2 separate regions of the Homo sapiens genome follow, and region 2 is linked to region 1. The links are contacts of gene promoters, found by promoter capture Hi-C in blood cells and fetal thymus (Javierre and others, 2016). All regions are on one chromosome and are shown on one strand. Each heading gives the region's core, a stretch centred on a gene start or on the middle of the fragment in contact. The rest is flanking DNA. Distances are from core to core; before and after follow the strand shown. Region 1 holds the start of BHLHE23 (basic helix-loop-helix family member e23). Region 2 holds the start of NTSR1-AS1 (NTSR1 antisense RNA 1).

The links. Contacts are between HindIII fragments. The CHiCAGO score rates a contact against its expected background, and 5 or more counts as called.
Region 2: the fragment with the promoter of NTSR1-AS1 here is called in contact with the fragment with the promoter of BHLHE23 in region 1 in 3 of 17 cell types (total CD4 T cells, erythroblasts and non-activated CD4 T cells); the score reaches 6.2 in total CD4 T cells.

Annotation. Positions count from the first base shown.
Region 1 is chr20:63,005,433-63,008,476 of GRCh38, reverse strand. It overlaps BHLHE23 (basic helix-loop-helix family member e23), which reads left to right and starts at 1,513. Exons shown (of 1, transcript NM_080606.4): 1 at 1,513-2,550. The coding sequence starts at 1,703. The coding sequence ends at 2,428. RefSeq lists enhancers at 381-1,088, 1,089-1,794. The HindIII fragment of the contact is 10,733 bases long and covers 1-3,044 here.
Region 2 is chr20:62,733,855-62,736,898 of GRCh38, reverse strand. NTSR1-AS1 (NTSR1 antisense RNA 1) reads left to right here and starts at 1,540. Exons shown (of 2, transcript NR_199009.1): 1 at 1,540-1,673. The region is part of intron 1 of NTSR1 (neurotensin receptor 1); the gene reads right to left. RefSeq lists an enhancer at 1,271-2,116. The HindIII fragment of the contact is 3,056 bases long and covers 484-3,044 here.

The DNA of each region.
Region 1 (3,044 bases), core at 264-2,763:
GGCCCGTGGCCACAATGACACCCACTCACCCTTCAGACCCAGGCCCAAACACAGCGGCCTCCTCCACACCAGGTATCCTCAATTCCCGGTCTGTGCATCAGCCCCGAAGGCGGGGTGGGGTCCCAGGACAGCGCCTCAGACAGACGCTTCCATCCTCGGGGCCCCTGCGCTCCTGGCGGGCGTGTGCTGGGGGTGAGGCCGGTGCTGCAGGACGCGCAGCCAGACAGGCCGCCAGCCCGGCAGAGGCTGCCTCAGACCCATTCCCCTCCGCCAGGACAAAGGCCTGAGTTTCCCACGGAGACTTATCCATGCATCTGTCTCCTCACACCCCGCACCTGGCAGGGAACCACCGGACAGGCCGGTCACTGCTGCGTTCCCAGAACCTTCCAGACAGCACATCCGCCCCACACACGTGCAGCTCCCACTCCCCTCCCGGGGCTGCGCACACTGCCCCATCGCTGTGGCTCCTCCTGGGGCGGAGCCTGGAGAACAGGGAGGGTATGCGGCCCTTCCCAGGTCACACAGAAGGGCCCGACGGGCCGCTCCACCTCGTGCCATAGGCCAGGGTGGCCCAGTCTCCCACCCAAGCCAGGACCGGAGAAGCCACTATCCCTCAGCACACTCTAGCCTCAGCACTCGGCCGGGCCTCCAGGCAGGTTCCCACCTGGGAGAAGGGCTGGGGTTCTGGCCTTCATGCGGGGTTGGAAGAGGACTGAAAAGGCGAGTCCGAGGCTGGCCACATTCCCATCCAGTGTGGCTGGACCCCAGGGGTTCGGAGGCTCCGGGAAAGCCCACCAAGCCTCACGCGTTTCGCTGATAGATGCCCAGGAAGCGGCTGGCAGGGAAGAGGCGGTCCTGCAGCTCACAGAGCTCCCCTCCCACCCCCGGGGAGCCCCAGGCCGCGCTGCCCTCCACCTTCCCGCCCTCCCCGGCCTGCAACGCTCGTGGCGTTTTTCAACAGGTTCTAGAAACTCCCTCTCACTCTGCCCCTCAAGCCTGGCCACAGGGCGCCCCGAGCAGGGAGTGTGCGGGCTCCGGGTACACGCTGCGCCGCGGCTGCACCAGAGCGCCCACGACCCTGACCCCGACCCGAAGCGGCCCCTCAGCGGGACAGGGTGTTGGCGCTGGCGCTGCTGCTATTGCGGCGCGCCCCCCCGCTCTGGCCCCTGCGTGTCGCCAGGGACTCTTGCGCTAGGGTCAGACTCAAAGACGGACCGAGGCGGGTGCCCACCTGGGACGCGTGCGTTTGGTGGCGGAATCCCCGGGGCGGCCGGAGGCGGCGGCCGGGGAGTCGAGAAGCAAGTACTAGCGCTCCAGGACCGCGCGCGCCGCCCCGCGCCGCCCCGCGCCGCCCCTCGGTCCAGAGCCCCCACCCCCGGCCTGTGAGCCTGCGGCGCTGGTGGAGCCCGGCTCCAGGAAGAGGAGCTCACCCGGTCCCCCCTGATTGGACAGCAGCGAGGTCCCACCGGGCGCCTCCGCGGCTTAAAACCGAAGCGGGGGCGAGGGGGAGGTAGAGCCCGCCCCCTGCGCGTCGCGGCTGGGAGGGAGAGGAGGTGGGAGAGAAGGAAGAGGCGGAGGAGGCAGCGGGCGCCGAGGCTCTGGGACCCGCAGGCAAGCCAGACCGACGCGCAGAGCCGGGAGCCTCATCGCAGCGGCAGCGGCAGCGGCGGGCTCGGGCCGGCCTCGGGGGCTGCTCACCCACATGAGCATCCGCCCACCCGGCGAGCCCCCGAGCCCAGGCGGCGCGGCCATGGCCGAGCTCAAGTCGCTGTCGGGGGACGCGTACCTGGCACTAAGCCACGGCTACGCGGCGGCGGCTGCGGGTCTCGCCTACGGGGCGGCGCGAGAACCCGAAGCGGCCCGCGGCTACGGCACTCCGGGCCCGGGCGGCGACCTCCCCGCGGCGCCTGCACCTCGCGCCCCAGCTCAGGCGGCGGAGAGCAGCGGCGAACAGAGCGGGGACGAGGACGACGCCTTCGAGCAGCGGCGGCGGCGGCGCGGGCCAGGGAGCGCGGCGGACGGGCGGCGGCGGCCGCGAGAGCAGCGGTCTCTGCGGCTCAGCATCAACGCGCGCGAGCGGCGGCGCATGCACGACCTAAACGACGCGCTGGACGGGCTGCGAGCCGTCATCCCCTACGCGCACAGCCCGTCGGTGCGCAAGCTCTCCAAGATCGCCACGCTGCTGCTCGCCAAGAACTATATCCTCATGCAGGCGCAGGCCCTGGACGAGATGCGGCGCCTGGTGGCCTTCCTCAACCAGGGCCAGGGCCTGGCCGCGCCCGTAAACGCCGCGCCCTTGACGCCCTTCGGCCAGGCCACTGTGTGCCCCTTCTCCGCAGGCGCCGCCCTGGGGCCCTGCCCTGACAAGTGCGCCGCCTTCTCCGGGACGCCCTCCGCGCTTTGCAAACACTGTCACGAGAAGCCGTGACCGCGCGGGCCCCCGGCCCTCCCGCACGCGTCCTCCGATCGCCCCTGTGACTGTCTCTCTGCCCGGACAGGAAAGGCCTGGAGGGACCCTGCAGACCAGGAGGAGGGGGCCCGACTTCGCTTCCAGCCTGTGCGCGGTGGACAGTTTAGCGCAGCGGGAAGCGCCAAGGCCGTCGGGGCGCGGGATTGAGCTCGAGAGCCGGACGCTGGACTCTGCGCCCGGGAACTCGCGGCACCCACTGGGTATTGTCGGGACCCAGCAAGTCTAGGAACGGGGGTGGGTAGAGCATCCTTCGGGCACTGCCGTTCGTCCCCAAAAGAAGACCACCGCGGGGTCCCAGGGCCACGGCGAGGACGGGCACTGGTCAGATTCCGGACAGGCGGTCCTGGCCCCGGGCGCACGAAAGGTGGAGACGAAGAAAAGCCGGACTTACTGGCTCCTGATCCTCTTGCAGTGGGCCTCGCGCTCCCGCTCCAGCCGGCCCTTCGTGCTAAACTGCAGGGCAGTGCTCTGTTCCTGAGGACGCGCGTGGCCGGCACCTCCCACCTCGGTGACTCCGAGACTCCGCAGCCCTGCGGAGAGCCCACGATGGCCGTCTGCAGAGGAGCTGGACCGC
Region 2 (3,044 bases), core at 291-2,790, 270 kb after region 1:
AGATTCACTCTCACAAGAACTGCCTGGGGGAACCGCCCCCACGATCCAGTCACCTCCCCCTGGTCCTGCCCTTGACACGGGGCATTATGGGGATTACAATTCCCATGAGATTTTGGGTGGGGACACAGCCAAACACATCACGAAGTAACTCCTACGCCAGGTGTGTGCATGTGGCCTGGGCCCTGGTCACAGATGGAAAATGAAGCAGTAAAACAGAGGAGGGTCTCAGCTTGCGGGTCCTATGCTGAGGGTCCAGGTTGTTCCCTGGGAGCCACAGGCCAGGGCCTCGGAGTCCTCGGAGTCCTCGCTGGGAAAGGGGCTCTGCTGGAGGTTTGGGCCCGCCCTGCATAGCTGGGAGCCCTCTCTTTGCCCCACCCACAGGTGGAAGCCACTTCCCTCCTCTCCCAAACCCCCTCTCCTGGTTCCCCAGTTGGAGTGATCCACAGAGGAGATTCTGCGTCTAAACTGGGACTCAGGGAAGCTTCTGGAACTGTGAGAGGGGTTTGGTTCCTGCCTTTCTGAAGACAAAGTGGCGCCTGTCTTTCAGGGCATTGCGCCTGAGGGTACAGAGAGTGGGGCTCTGCCTCTGGGGTCCCAGGGTCTCCCCAGCTGCCAAGGGCAGCAGCCCCAGACCCAGACAGGGAAAGGAGCCTGGCTTCCCTTCCCGCCCTGCTCCATGGGGCAAGTGCAGAGAATCCCCAGCCACGATGCCCCTGCCCGAGGCACCCCAGGCTCCAGGCAGATCTCAGGCCTCCTAACCCAGGCCCTGCCCCGAAGGGACAAGTTTCAGAACAAACTGTCCACTGGGCTAATACCCCGGCTTTTGTGATCACCACATACTGATTTCTATCGAGGGATGAAAATTGACAAATTTAAACGGGAATTACTGGGCTCGGAAATTTGTTCTTTGTAATGAAGGGAACAGTTGAATACAGAATCTGAATTTGGGATTCAGACCAGACCCCCTCAGAGAAAGTGCTGAACCCGTGAGGAATTGGAGGGTAAGGGGAACTGTTCTTGGCAACTCCTGTCCCATTTCCTTTTGGGATGGGGGCTGCTCCCGCCCCCTGCACAGCCCCACAGGTCACAGCGGGGAAGACCCTGTCCCTGGTCCCCGGTCGCAGTGTGTGCCCTTTCCTACTTCCCTGCACGCCAGCCTCAGGAGGTGAGCTCACCTCGCCGTGTCGGGGGGACTCCCGTGTTACCCACCCCCCAAGCCAGGGAGCGGCCTCCAGGGGAGCATGGGGGAGGCTGAGGCCACCTTGCGGGGAGGCTGTTCCTGGGGCTGGGACGCCTCTCTCTGAATCATCCCCGCCCACAGAAGGAATTCATCTCACTCCTAATAATGTGTTTGTCACAAAGACATAATCGGCTCATCTGTGAGACTCCAGCGTGCACAGCGGTGCTGGCTCTTTGTTGTATAGTGGCAGTCTCACTGCAAGGCCGTTGGGCTTTGAGGAAAGGGAAGGAGGCACCCACTCTCTCCCCGGGGGGCCCCTGCCTTCCCTCGCAGTCCCACCTCTTCCGCCTGCCTCCATCACAGCAATTCAAATAACTATGAATGGGGCTACCTGGGAGCCCCACATCCCTGGCTGTGGGAACAGGCTGACCTTCCAGCACAGTGTCCTCCTGGTGCCAGGCACTGCCCCTCTGCCAAGGACCCTGCAGGCCTGGTAGGTCCCCAAGGGCACCCGTGGCCTCCCACCCCCTAACCATGGTTTTGGCACTGAGCTGGCGGCCAGGCGGGGCAGAGGAGGGAGCTGAGCGTCTTTCTTTAGTGTGCACGTCACCGCACACGATGGCACCCCACTGGTTGCTGCCCATCATGCAGGGCTGCCTCCACATGGGGCCTCAGCACCGGCTGGTGCCTGGCACCCCGCACGCGGCACCCCACCCCAAGGGGAGGCTGTACAGGCTCTGGACACACCCCAAAGCCACCCGAGGGCTGCTTCTCATCAGCAGGGAGGGGCTCGGGCAGCACAGTCCCGTGGAAATAGGATGCAGGCCACGTGAGGCTTAAATGTACCAGTAGCTATGTTACAAAAGTGGAAGGAAACAGCTATGATAATTTTAATACGATATCTTATTTAACTTAATGTATTCAAAATATCATATCAACTTGCAACGGTATTAGTGAGCTATTGTATACCGCCTTTCCGCATTAACTCTAAAACCCGGTGCGGATTTCAGGCTGAAGCTCATCTTCACTCAGACCAGCCATGTCTCAATGCCCAGTGGCCACGTGTGGCCCAGGGCTGCCACATTAGACAGGGCTGCCTGCAGCTTTTATGGGAAGCCACCTGGGCCAGGCACACCAGCGCCTGCTCCTCGCTCCCCAGGGGTGGTCTTGGCCCCAGCTCTGCTCAGCAGAGAACCCAGAGCCTCCAGGTCAGCCCCGGACACAGGGCGTGGGCATTGCACAAGGTCAAGAATGAGTTACTCATTTTCAACCACCTAAAAAGATGGCCCCAAAATGAAGCCTGGGTAAGACAAGGGGCCACGTCCTTCCAGGAGCAGAGCTCGGCTTCCTCTGCATCGGCCACAAAGCCCCTACTGCACCGAAGCCCAAGAGCTGAGCCAAGATTTTTTTTTTTTTTTGCGGGGAAGGGGGTCACACTCCAGAGAAGGCTCCAGAAAAGCTCTCATCCCAGACCTCGCTGCCTCCGCCCGCCCCTCACGCCCCATCTCTTGCCCGTCCCCCACCAGGGCTGAAGAGTGAACTCAGTAGTAACCCACGTGGCTGAGCCAGAGAAGGAGGCTGCGCAGGGGACAAGGCGGTCGCTTCCAGGATGAGAAGCGCAGACTCGAGGTCGGGCAAACCTGCCGCCGGCCCCAGCCGTGTGCATCTGAGCAAGTGGCTTCCCCCAGCCTCAGGCTCCTCATCTGTGAAACGAAACCCCCTCCAAGCTGGGCTGGCTCAGCACCCAAAACCATCATTTAAAATGCGACCCTGCCTGGGGGCTGTTCGAATCCTCTATTGAGATAAAGTAGCAATCATACATTCATCAGTCACTACTCCCTGCTGGAGGCCTCTTCCCCAGCAC